Linked DNA regions of Homo sapiens: all the other regions are linked to region 1. The links are contacts of gene promoters, found by promoter capture Hi-C in blood cells and fetal thymus (Javierre and others, 2016). All regions are on one chromosome and are shown on one strand. The core of a region is centred on a gene start or on the middle of the fragment in contact, and the rest is flanking DNA. Distances in the headings are between cores, read along the strand shown.

What was found. Contacts are between HindIII fragments. The CHiCAGO score rates a contact against its expected background, and 5 or more counts as called.
Region 2: a fragment that was not itself captured here is called in contact with the fragment with the promoter of ARHGAP26-AS1 in region 1 in 4 of 17 cell types (total B cells, fetal thymus, naive CD8 T cells and 1 more); the score reaches 7.2 in total B cells.
Region 3: a fragment that was not itself captured here is called in contact with the fragment with the promoter of ARHGAP26-AS1 in region 1 in 1 of 17 cell types (naive B cells); the score reaches 5.4 in naive B cells.

The regions. Positions count from the first base shown.
Region 1 is chr5:142,866,995-142,871,244 of GRCh38, forward strand. It overlaps ARHGAP26-AS1 (ARHGAP26 antisense RNA 1), which reads right to left and starts at 1,916. Exons shown (of 6, transcript NR_046680.1): 1 at 1,806-1,916; 2 at 863-1,095. All of the region lies in intron 1 of ARHGAP26 (Rho GTPase activating protein 26), which reads left to right. RefSeq lists a silencer at 30-324. The HindIII fragment of the contact is 5,262 bases long and covers 1-3,908 here.
Region 2 is chr5:143,823,767-143,828,016 of GRCh38, forward strand. No RefSeq gene overlaps it. Among named protein-coding and RNA genes, the nearest start is that of HMHB1, 14 kb to the left of the region's middle. RefSeq lists a silencer at 1,475-1,614. The HindIII fragment of the contact is 1,752 bases long and covers 1,224-2,975 here.
Region 3 is chr5:142,144,743-142,148,992 of GRCh38, forward strand. All of the region lies in intron 7 of NDFIP1 (Nedd4 family interacting protein 1), which reads left to right. Among named protein-coding and RNA genes, the nearest start is that of NDFIP1, 38 kb to the left of the region's middle. RefSeq lists an enhancer at 636-725. The HindIII fragment of the contact is 1,410 bases long and covers 1,264-2,673 here.

The DNA of each region.
Region 1 (4,250 bases), core at 666-3,165:
AGAGCACTTCTTCCAATGTGGAAGCCAGGGCCCCTCTCTCAGTTGCTGAGTGTCCACTGGACATTTCTAGGTGGTTATTTGTTCCTCAGTGGGACAGGATCTGTTCTCAGCACTGCCTTTAAGGCTGGCCCTGTCATTTCTCCTTGAGTCTTAGCTGTTGTTTAAATTAGCTGCTTGGTCAAGGTGTTCTCTGATATAGTTGATTGCCACCTAGTGGCCACAGGTAAGACCGTGTGTCACGGAAACGAGAAAAATGCTATGGAGAATTTTGTTTCATTCTAAGATTTGCACAGGGTGTGTGTGTGTGTGTGTGTGTGTGTGTGTGTGTGTGTGTTTTGTTTGTTTTTGCTAGTACAATGCCAGGAGTCTGGGCTGCAGAATGGTATTTACAAGGGACTGTAACTTGCTTTTCTTATAATGAAGCACATCGAACTAGGTTTAAACTGCTACATACAGACTTGGGGAAATGGGGAGTCGTTGGAAATGCCTCTCTCCAAGCACAGTTTCTGATTGGATATGTTCTCAGTTTTCCCAGATACGGGGAGAAAGAAAAGAGCGATCTCTGGGGACTCTTCCTTAAACCATTTTAACTGCAACCTGGGGCTTGTGCTGGGGCTAAGAGAGGACAGTTGGTTGTGGCCAGCAGTTGGGTTGTATGTAGCTCATTTCTCCAGCTTCCTTGGTATAGGTGAGGTTTTATTTTATGCTCCTGCTGGTGGTAGCTCTCCCTCCAGCTCTGTGGGACTCTTCCTCAATGGACAACATGAAGGGAGGTGGTCACATGCTAATAGGAAGCACATTCCCACATATATATCAGGCTCTAGCCAGACTTACATAAGTTGGAGAGTTTGTCCTAACTTACCTGCTTTTTTTTTCACATGTCAAACATTGAGTTGGGAGGTTCACCTCTGATGAAGGCTAATGGACTTATGGAGTGCCCAACTTCCTCTCTCTTTGTTCTTTCTGCAATACCTGCTCTCAGTCAAGCAGTAGAGTGTTGGGCTTTGGGGATAGAGTGGTGAGCATGAAGGGATATGATCCTCATCCTTATAGAATGTACTAGTTGGGGAGGCATTACTTGAAGAGAAGAATTACCTGAACAAATATAAAATTGCTCTGAAGAAAAGATCTATAGTATAGTACTCAGAGAGTGAGAAATAGGGTTGGGTTTGGCCTGATTAGAGAAGTCAGGGAAGGCTTCCTGGAGGAAAGAACTTTTGGGCCAAGGGCTGCAGGCAGAGGTGGCATGTGGTGGCAGGTAGGAGTTGGGCATGCCCCGGGAACTGGCAGAGGCTGGAGCAGCTGGAGCCCAGAGAGGGGTGTGGGGAGGCCAGACCCTGCAGGGCCTCTCAGGCCTTGGGAGGGACTTTCGTCTTCACCTCCAGAGCTCTGGGAAGCCATCACAGGGCTCACTGCTGGTATTGACACAACTGGGTGGAGAACTGATTTGACGGACAAAAGTGGATGTGGGGAGGCCAGAGAGGAGCAGTTGCAGTTATCTGGGCAAATGGAGGTGTTTTGTTTAGGGGTTGCTGATAGTGATGGGAAGGAGTGGGCAGAATTGAGATGTGCTTAGGAGACTTGGGAATGGACATGGCACATGAGGGAGCCTGCTGTGTGAGAGGATGACATGTACTGGTGACTTGTGCGGCAGGGTGAATGGTGGTGCCCTTCGTTACACTGGGGATGCAGGAAGAGGCCCTCGGCTGGCTCTCTGGGGAGAGGGTGGCAGAGGGTGTTTGAGTAGAGAGAGTTTTGTTTTGAGTGTGTTGAGTTTGACCTAGGAATGGGGGTGTGGGCTAAACCTGAAGTCTCTCTGGGGCTCGTGTCCATCCATGTCTCAGCTGTCTGTCATGGGTCCTCTCTGGAGACTCTCAGGTATTCCACCTGTAAGCCAGCTTGTGTTTCCTTGCCCGCTCACATCGTACAACAGGTTTGGAGGGACACTGTGTCCAGCCCTGTCCGAGGCACTCTTTGTGCATTGTGACATGAAGCCATTCATGACTAGTTCCAGAATTATTCCAAATACAAGGTGATGAGGCACAGAGAGTAACTGGCGTCCAGGAAAGGAAGAGATTAACAAGGCCCGGGGACTTTGGTATTCTTGAACTTTAGGCAGCCATGAGGCCAATCCTGTTGCAAGTTCTAACCTCAATGATGGCCTTTCTGAGCTGTAATCACTTTCTTTTCTTTTCTTTTTCTTTTTCTTTTTTCTTTTTTTTTTTTTTTTGAGACAGCGTCTCACACTGTCGCCTAGGCTGGAGTGCAATGGTGCAACCTCGGCTCACTGCAGCCTCAGCCTCCCGGGTTCACGCGATTCTCCTGCCTCAGCCTCCCTGAGTAGCTGGGATTACAGGTGCACACCAGTACACCCGGCTATTTTATTTTATTTTTTTTTGTATTTTTAGTAGAGATGAGGTTTCACTATGTTGGCCAGACTGGTCTCGAACTCCTGACCTCATGATCCACCCGCCTTGGCCTCCCGGAACTGTAATCACTTTCTAAGTCCAAAGGGAAAGATGTGACTGAGCAGCAAAACATTTCAAGGGTAGTTAATACACAATTTTGGTAACTTTGGAGGTCACAAAGGCAATAGATGCACTGAAAATACAGTAGTAAGGTTACCTGAGTCCATGTTTGTGTGTGCACATGTATGTTAAGTTTTACCCAAGGAGAAAAAGGAAATGGCTTGACTTGTGGTATTACTGGTACAACTTGTATAAAATTAAGGTAGATTCTAATTTTTAAAAAATTATGGTAAACCTTCTGTGTTAGTGAAAGTTGGATCTATTTGGGTTAAATTCTCTTAAATCCGGTGCAGATTAATATCTGCTGGCATCTCCAAGAAAAGAAGGGCACTTCCTCTAGTCCCTGAGTGAGCAGGTGGCTCTGGGAGCAGTCTCTCAAGGCCCAAACTTCTAGCTGCTTCCATATTTCTTAGCCATCTGGTCCCCTCACTCAGAGAAGCACAGCCCTACCTACTCTGGAAAGCAGATACTTGGCCTCCCCAGATGCCGGCAGTTATGACTTCCCTCCACTCTGGCCAGCATTCTGCTTTTCTAGCAACAGATGTTTCTGCAAAGTAAATATTATTGACTCTGCTTGGCTCCTTGCTGTGTCTTGCACTGCCTGCACATGAAACAGCAGGGTTATATGAGGAGGGTGCCACGACGCTTGGCATGCACCCAGCACCAGTGCCAGCCTCTTCTCTTTTCTCTCTCCTCTTATTGGAATGTGTGTGTTAGATTCCTGTGTGCATCAGAGGGAAAGCTCTTGAAATAAATCTTTGGGCTGCTCCATATCCAAGGTGAAAATCTACATAAGATACCACCAATCTTACTGGATTGAAATTGGCAAGAAGCAATGGTTTTTAGGTAGAGAGTTCTCTTTTTAGTGTTGTTTTCAATCTCTCAAGTAACATAGAGGGTTTACCTTAATGGGGTGAAGTGGTATGGTGTTCCCACATACTACAAGGATCTCAGTTCACAGGACTTAAGTCACAGGTCCTCTCCTTAGTGGCCTTGCACTCTTAGGTCAGTCCTTTAACTTCTCCGAGCTCCAAACAGTTATTCATGCTTACCTTTCCTGGTTCCTCTTACTGGAGGATTCATATATGAGGAAAGAATAGCCCAGCTATACCTAGAACTGAGTCTTGTGATGTGCAGAGTGCCTATACAGTGTTTCTCACTGGATCCTCCCTGCCTAACCCACGGGCTGACAGCCTCCGTCAGATGAGATAACTGAGACTTTATGACTAACCCAGGGTTGGTTACATATCTGATCTATGTTGGAGCTGGAACTTGAACCCAGGAGCTGTGGGATTGGGGTGGGGGCAAGGGGTTGGGGTTGATCACCCTGTCACCATCACCCCATAGAATGCAAGTGGAGAAGGGAGGTTCTCCAAAACAAGCTTGAGATGCTGTCCCAAAGTCTGGGGAATGGATTCCAAACAAGTAAAAGGACAGGTGTCCACTTTAGCTGTACTGAAAAATTCCTCTATCAAGCCTGAGGTGAGTTCCTTTTTCAGGTCCATTCATCAGGATTCTCGCTCTACCCAGCTTTCCTCATTGGCTTGAAGCCCAATACTGACTCCATACCAGCAGTCATTACCTAATCGTCTATCGGGGGATCGGCCTGTCCTTCAGCTTCATGGGGTCCTCACTGCTTCTCAGGCTTGCACTGTGGCAGGGTGTGCTCTGTGCCAGTGGACAAGGAAATCAGGTCACCTGCTGGTCATAAGCTAACAGGCC
Region 2 (4,250 bases), core at 850-3,349, 960 kb after region 1:
AAAGACAAAGGAAGCTGAGGATGTTCACATGTTTTCTTACATTTACTACAATGTGCATTTAGTATATTTGGGATTGAGGGGAGTAGAAAAGGCCTGACATGGGGACCATGGAGAATAAAACAGGAAGCAAAGAAAGTTCTCCTGAAAGGTCTGCAGAGGAGCTTTGAGGTTTGGTCAGAGAGGATGAGTGGGAAGAAGGTCAGGGCAGTGCTGGGGAAGAGAGGGCAGAGTGCTAGGTAGACTCAGGATTGGTCAGGATGGGCATCATGGAAGGTCAGGGGATTTTAGAGCAGGAACAAGGGTATGGCTGAATTGACCTGCCATGGAGTCCTGAGCAGACAAGAGAATACAGAAAGAGGGATTATACACTGAGGGTGGAGGAAAGGCTGGCTGGAATCCAAAGGAGTGTGAGAGACATGTGTCCATGAGATTGCAATCACAGAGGCGATTCAGAAAGGTCAAGGTCACAGAAGAGAAGACCTGCTCGAGGCAGGGTTGCCCGGTGGCTGCAATAGAGAAGGAGATCACGGGAATCAAGAGCAGGAAATCATTGGTCCAAGAGCTGAGGTCACTAGGGATAATAGCTAACCACTGGACCTTTTTAATGGCATGTATAATTATAATCCCACATGTACTGGTTTACTTGCCATTGTCCATTTTTCACCATACCAAACTAAATTATAAGCCCCTCAAGGGCAAGGATGAAGTATGTTTCTGTGTGATATCCAGTGTCTGTCATAGTAAGAAATATTCATTAAATATTTGGAGAGCAAATGAATGAATGATTGAATGTTTGACTACAGCACACCACTTCTCACGAAAAAGACTTTGTTTATAGCAATTGTGTAGTACCAGTGGAAAAACACTTGAGACTGGGGAGTAGTGAAAACATAGTTTTACCAAGCCGTGAAGCTCTGGATTATATACAGTTGTTTGTATGATACCTAAGTTGTTCTCTCCATTCTGAAAGTGTACGTACTTCAAGGGCAAGAGCCAAATCCTATATAATCCTTATGTAATACTTCCTTTCTATCCACAGAGCAGCCAGCAGAACTCTAGAAAAATAACAAGCAGATGTATACAGCCTGGAGGAGGAGGTTTTATAGTGAAACAGACTTTTATAGAGTTAGAGAAAACTGCCCCATCACTGATCTTCAGTAACTTGTTTCCTCATCTGTAAACTAGGAATAAAAAACAGGATGCAGCACATAGGGTTGATGTAAAGCTTAAGTGAGATAATGCGTATACCCATCTGTCAGTGCCAGGTACATAGCCCTCCATGTAAGACAGCTAAAGATAAAAATACTATTTTATCTGTTTTTTGGACTGTGTAAGCTGCAGTTGGATTTAGGGTTTGTCACTGTTTGTAGCAGCGACATTCTCATGCTCTTCTCAGTACCCTGGCCAAAAGGTTTGCTTCAGCAGCAGTGATTCCAGACCCCAACTCTGCTCTTCTCTGGAAGCAGGTATCTGCACGCTCCCACAGCAGGGGCTGATGACCTCAGGGGCTGATCTGTGCAAGCACAGCTCTATGCTGCCCTCTGGTGGATGTATTTTGGGCTGCCCCTTCCCTGCCATGGACTTGCTGCTGTGCTGACATTAAGGTGCAAAGATAAACTATATGAAGAGCACCTATGAGGAGGTTCTTTGGAGATTACAGGGTAATGAGGGAGGAACGCACTCCACCAATTGTTGTGTTTGGTTCAGCTTCTCAGTTGTACAATCCTACTTCTACCAAGGGAATGGCTATTTCTGCACCAATGAAAAACTCATTACCTCCAAGGGATTTTGGAGGTTAATCAAGGTGGTTCTGAGGCTCTGAGAGGGGCAGCGTCGAGCCTAAGATCACACAGTTAAACGACGACTTTGGCCTCTTAATCTCTGTATTATAACCATTTGCAGACCACTTTCTTTCTGTAAGGAAAAAGTCACAGGGCTCACTGTAAAATGCAAATTATTCTGGAAGGGCATCTGCTTTGCCTCACCTGAGAGTAATCTAAATGGCCATAATAGACCCAGGAGCCATGTTTATGTCTTCTCTTTTCCTCATCTATTACAGCCAATAAATAAGCAGGCTCTTCGGTTTTCCATATCATGTGTCTTATTCGCTGTGCTCCATCTCATCTGCTACTAACTAGCTCCATTCCCTATCTCTTTGTTTGGATGACTACAGTTGTCTCCTAAGGGCTCTCTCTGCTTTTCTCCTCCCAGCTCCTTCACAATCCTCTCTCCTCCCAGCAGCCAAGATGAGCTGATACAAGTCCTGTTTAAAACTCAACACTTCACCCTTGTCTAGACATCCATATGTGATTTCAATCTCATTGTATACCCATGCCCCCTTGGCTCTCCATATTCCAGCCAACCTGAGCCCTCTTCCATCACTCCGACATGGCCAGCCTTTGCCTTTGCACTTGCTGTTCTCTCTGCATGGAATAGTCTTCTCTGCACACTTCTCATGGCTGGCTTTTCCTCTTCTTTCATCTCAGTATAGATGTCTCCTCTTAGAGAGGCCGGCAATGACCACCCTATCTAAAAGAACTCCTTCCCCCAACATTCTCCTTCCCCAATATGGCAGCTCTTGTTATGCGTTTCTATGAATTTCCTTCATAACAGTAATCACTACCCGTCATTATCTTGTTTATTTGCTTAATGCATGTTCTCCATTAGAATATAACTTCCAGGAGGGCAGACTCTTTGCCTTCCCATTGCTGGAGTCTTCTCAGTGTCTGGTACATAACAGATACTCAAAAAAGTGCTTAGTGGAGTGGAAGAGGAGTACTTTATAGCTTGTGGCATTGGCTAACTTTTCATAACCTGGCCCCATCTGTAGCTGCTCCCCTGCCATACCCAGCCACGTAGAACCATCTTGATCAGATCGTTCCCTTATGTTGGTTGACTGAGTGAATGAGCATGTTTAAGGGATTTCATTTTCTCTATAGCATGTCCTGTATGAATGTTGATATATGCATAGACAAAGCTTTATATATTTACACAAAATCACATTCCTTCCTCCATGAAACTTATAATCGTGAATTTGAATTCCTTTCTTTATTCATTGCTGTAAGTCATAGTAACAAGATTTGATTGTACTAAACGCCATCCCATCACATTAATACAAACTTGATATTATGTTTATTTGATGAAGGTTTCCCCTGAAACTAGGCACTCAGGAATTGTTTCCAAGAAAAATAATTGAATAGGGAAAGAGACTGCAGTTGCCATTAAAATTAAAACCAGAAATCATTTCGTGTGTGTTATTCTTCCCTGGTTCCACCTCCAGCAATGACTGGAAACAGGTCCTTAAGGGCAAGTAATAAGAATGAATGTCACAAGAGTCAGAAATAATGAACCAATATCTTGCAGAAACACTACAGCATATGCCAACACAGAAAGAGGGTTGGGTAGGAAAGTGTGTGCATGTGAAAAAATAAACATCCCAGTAAAGAAATACGCAGAACCACGTTGATATATATACACAATGTCAGGTTCCTTTTGACTCAACAACAATAATCTGGTCACACAGAGTGAAACTGCAACCCTATCTGGCCCTTGATGTGGAAGGTGCTGAATCACCTGCCCAGGGGAAACTGCAGACATTTAGCACTTTCAAAGATGAGAATGAGCTAATAAAATTAGAGTCTGGCTCACTAAGCAAACATCACTGTGTGCCAGCCTCTCTTTGGAGCAAACCTGCTTTCTCAAATGCACACCACAATTTACTCTCCATGTACCATTTCCCTTATGTCAGTGAATGCCTTTCTCATGTCTTTGAATGTCTTTCTTGATAGCATACGAAAAATGAAGAGAAGGTGAGTTGAGAGGGGAAGGAGTGGGGAATAATAACATTTAACTAGATTTGTCATCTACTATTTCTATTAATTACCCTGGGGTTTCATCTCCTGGATCTTGTTATCTCTTTAGAGTAAAAAGCATTTAGTTTACTTAGATGATGGCCAAATACTCTTTTTTAAAAAAATACAGTTAGATAGAAAGAATAAGTATTAGTGTTCAAGGGTGACTATAGCTAACAATAATTTACTGCATATTTAAAAATAGCTAGAAAAGATTTGGAATGTTCCCAACACAAAGAAATGATACATGTTTGAGGTGATGGATATCCCAGTTGCCCTTATTATTACATATTATATGCATGTATCAAAATACCACAGGTACTCAATATACATATACAATTATTGCATATAAATAACAAATATTAGAAAAATACTTTTTTGTCCTCAAATACTTTGACC
Region 3 (4,250 bases), core at 719-3,218, 720 kb before region 1:
TTTTAGAGTAAGTATCTGTGATAGGGGCATATAGAGAAAGTAAAGAAGGCACAGTCCCTGCCTTTTAGCAGTTTCTTGTCTAGTAACAGGGATTTTTACAAAAAGCTATTGATAAAGTCAAATTAGAAAAACTGCCATAGGAGAAATCATTACTTCATGCTTTGACAGTGTGAAAGAGGCAGGGGTCTTAGCAGTCATCAGAAAGCTGGGATATTTGGCTGCTTGACTGAATTCCAGCATCCTGAAGCCACTGCTTACTGTTGCACCAGTTCCAGAGGATGACATTCAGAAGGAACCCTTCAGGCCTAATCACTCATCTCTGCCCCTAAATCCCAGAACCTGGAGAGACTGTGTAGTACTTTAAGAACTCCTTTTGTCTGGGCTGCTGACAAGCCCACCAAGTCTTCCATCTTTTAAAATTGTCATTGAGGCTTTCCCCATGGCTTTCTTCAGGTTGACATTCTGATACCACTCTAATGTGAGGAAGGTCAAACTCAAGAAAAGAGGAGAAAGGACCTTTTCCCTTGCCTAGAACAGGAGGACTAAGCCCTGCCAAGGCTCTTTGATTCACACATGATTTTCCCCAGAGGCTGACACTCCATCTTACATCAATGGCTGCCTGAAGGAAGAGGTAGAGAATCTTGAGAAAGAGTACACCAGAGAGAGCTCTCTGTGGTAGCAAGTTCTAATAGGCTTTCTTGGACTTGGCTGTTTGTTCCTTGGGGCTTTGGGGACTGTGTTAATCATAGAGTGGAACCTTGAGCACCACCTAGAGGCCAGTCCAGTTGAAGGTCTTAGGCAAAGCATTATAAAGGATAGGTGGTGTAGTTCAGATAAACTTTACATGATAGTGGAGAGTGTGGGGAAGAATTTCAGAATCATCTGAGGCAGAGTGAAGAGCAAAAATAGGGAAGTATGGGGCTTGTTCAGAGGATAGCAGCTTGATTGGGGCATAAAGGAGTATTGAGGGTCAAGGCTAAAAAGTCAGGTTGAAACAAGTTTCTCAGATACCTTGAGCACCAAGCCCATTTGCAGTAGAACCATGAAATTGATAGAGCCAGCGACATGTTGGGTCAATGCAAGACTAAGCCCACGTGGAGCACGAATTTGTTCTGTACTCGCAGAGTGTCAGTTTATATAGGCAATCATATACTAATCGTGAGGTTCTCAATTTTGAAGACTTGTGGTGGTCTCAGGAGGTATGCTTCAAGAAAATAAAGCATCTACCATAGTTGATTTTCCAGGTGATAGAACAGCATTGAAAGCTTTTAGGCAACAGAATCATATAATGAGACCCTCTTGAATATAACAAACATTTTTTCAAGCATAGTATAGTAAACTAAAATTAACACTCATGGAGTTTTCCATGTGTCAGATAATATATTAAGCATTTTACATGGATAATTAAATGTATGTAGGTAAAGAAGGCTTAAACTGCTTTTAAAGTTAGTTTCATTATTAAAAAAACTAGTATTCATTATTAAAAAACAGGAATCTTTGATTGCATGTCTGAAAATGTGTAGCATGTCATGAATTTGAATTCAGTCACACAGTCTGGACACAGATGGATATTCATACCACTGGCCTGGGCCTTAATGCCTACAATGTGTCTTTGTTTATGTCTAGAACATAAGAGACTTATTAGATATTCTTTGCAGTTTTATTTAGTTACCATTGTCATCTTTCATCTATATATCAGATTGGAATTTATAGTTAGCCTTAGGTTTAACTTTTACCTATCAAGGATTCCAAAGCTAGTACTGTTGGGTTGCTACAAGTCCTCCTTATGAAGGGTGCTGAAATCACCTAATATTTTCCCTCTAATACATTGACACCCAAGATATACTGAGGGGACAGATTTCTTTCTCTTTTTAAAAAAAGTCATCAATTCTGTAGGTGTAGTCTAATGTTAGCTCTGAATTTCTAAATGGACTGAGATCACACCTCTGTCTATTCTCTTTGTTCTTCAGTTAGAAAGAAATCTGAATCTTTATTAGGGGATTGCATACCTTCTTCATCTTGGTTCTAAGCATAAGAAATAGCAGCCCAGTTGACAGAAAGCCTGAACGTCTCAGTTTTCCTGTGTTGTTTGGTGCTTTACTGAAAATTTTGTTGTTATTGTTTGGATTTTCTAAAATTTCTGAAATGTTTTTTGATATTCTAAATTTAAAACTATGTATGTGGGGTTGTGATTTGAAGTAGGCAGTCCTTAGTAATAATAATGTTGTAGGAAGTACTAAGGGAGATTCAAGTGTTGAGCCTGCTGGTGCTTCAGGAGTGTACGTTAAGAGTTGTCAGAAACTTTCTCAGAGGTAAATGAATGCACACCATTGGAGGGCATAATAGAGTTTATTTGCTTTTCTATTTAACTGTGATACCCTGGTTTATTTGAAATCATTCCTGACACACCCAGAGAATTCAGAGCTCTAAATTAAGGGTTTGAGGAACTTACAGCAGAATTTAGAATTCTAATGACTTCACTAATTTTCCAGGGATCCCCAGAGGGAACCTGAAAAGCCATAATATCCTATGGGACTGAGTTCCCTTTGTCCACTGAAAGGGTAAGAACTCTGTCCAGATCCAGATGTAGAATCCCTTCTTTCTCTAGTTCAGAGGACATTTAGTTTAATTTTGTTAGAAGACATACTAGAAAACCGTCATGTGAAGTAAGAAAGCTTTATTTTTTTCCTCCCTATCGATTCTTTATTATGCTTATCACAGTTTTTAAAAAGTAATTATCTGCTAATTCCAACATCAGGTTAGATAAGTCTATTTGTATTGATGGATTTTTCTCTTGACTCTGGGTTACATTTTCCTGTTTTTACACACCTGGCCAGTTATTTCTTTGTTGCAGCATTGTTAATTATCATGTTGTAGAGATTATGAGCTCTGAATTTTGTCAGAAGGTTGTTGAGTTTTTGCCTAGCAGGCAGTCAAATTACTAAAGGATAAATTTGATCTTATTTCTAACTGTCATGTACAGTGATTCTTCTAGGGAGATAGGGATAGGGGAGAGGGAAAATGTAGTTTAAAAATCCTAGGCTAACTCCTGCTGAGGAAAATCACTGGTAAACTAGTGACTACTCTGCTAAATTGCCTCTCTTGACATTGTCAACCTGAAGCCATCAAAAGGATCAGAATACAGAGTTTATGCAAGTAGAAAGCTGGGAATGGCCAATCAGAGAACACAAACTTTAGAAAATGGGGTCAGTGTTCCCAAAAGCTTTATTTTCTTTTATGGACTTCTACTTCTTTGATGGAGATGTCACCAATTAAAAGGTAGCTGAAGAAAGACACAGGTAGGGAATTTTTAAAATAACTTTGCCAGAAAGATACAGATACAGAATTTTTAAAATAACTTTACCAAAACAGAAAAATAATATACTTTCCATATTGTACTAAGATTTGGCATTTTACTAGAAAAGGGCATAAGAATAGTGACTTTTCTAGTCAGGCTACCTGAAATATAGTACAAATAAACCAATCTTGAAGTGATCCCAAAACACCTCCTTCTAATCAGTCAAAGTAGATATTACAAAAGCTAAACATTAAAGCTCATGTACTACTATCATAGGGGCAGCTCTCAGGTTCCTTTTCAGAGTCCATTTAAGCTTAAGGGAGGGAAAAATGTATTAATAAGCTGTTATCTGTTTTCCTACTTCATAACAAAATGCCAGAAGGAACTGCTAAAGGTGTGCACAGTGGCCATCAAGAAGTATGTGACTGGGCCGGGCGCAGTGGCTCACGCCTGTAATCCCAGCACTTTGGGAGGCCGAGGTGGGCAGGTCACCTGAGGTTAGAAGTTTGAGACCAGCCTGGGCAACATGACAAAACCCCGTCTCTACTAAAGATACAAAAATTATCTGGGTGTGGTGGTGTGCACCTGTAATCCCAGCTACTTGGGAGGCTGAGGCAGAAGAATCGCTTGAACCCAGGAGGTGGAGGTTGCAGTGAGCCAAGATCACACCACTGCACTCCAGCCTGGGCGACAGAGCGAGACTCTGTCTCAAAAAAAAAAAAAAAAAAAAAAAAAAAGTATGTGACTGAGGAAGCAGAAGAAACAGATACCTGTTATAAACATCTGTACCTGAAATGGTAAAAAATGTAAAGTGTTTATACTTTTCTTATTTACCAGTTCACTGGAAAATACATTTTTATGGATTACCACCTCCTCTGATGCTGCCAGGTGAATGAGGAGTTAGCTACAGTAATAAGGTGGTAACACAGTTGATTGGTTATATCTAACACTA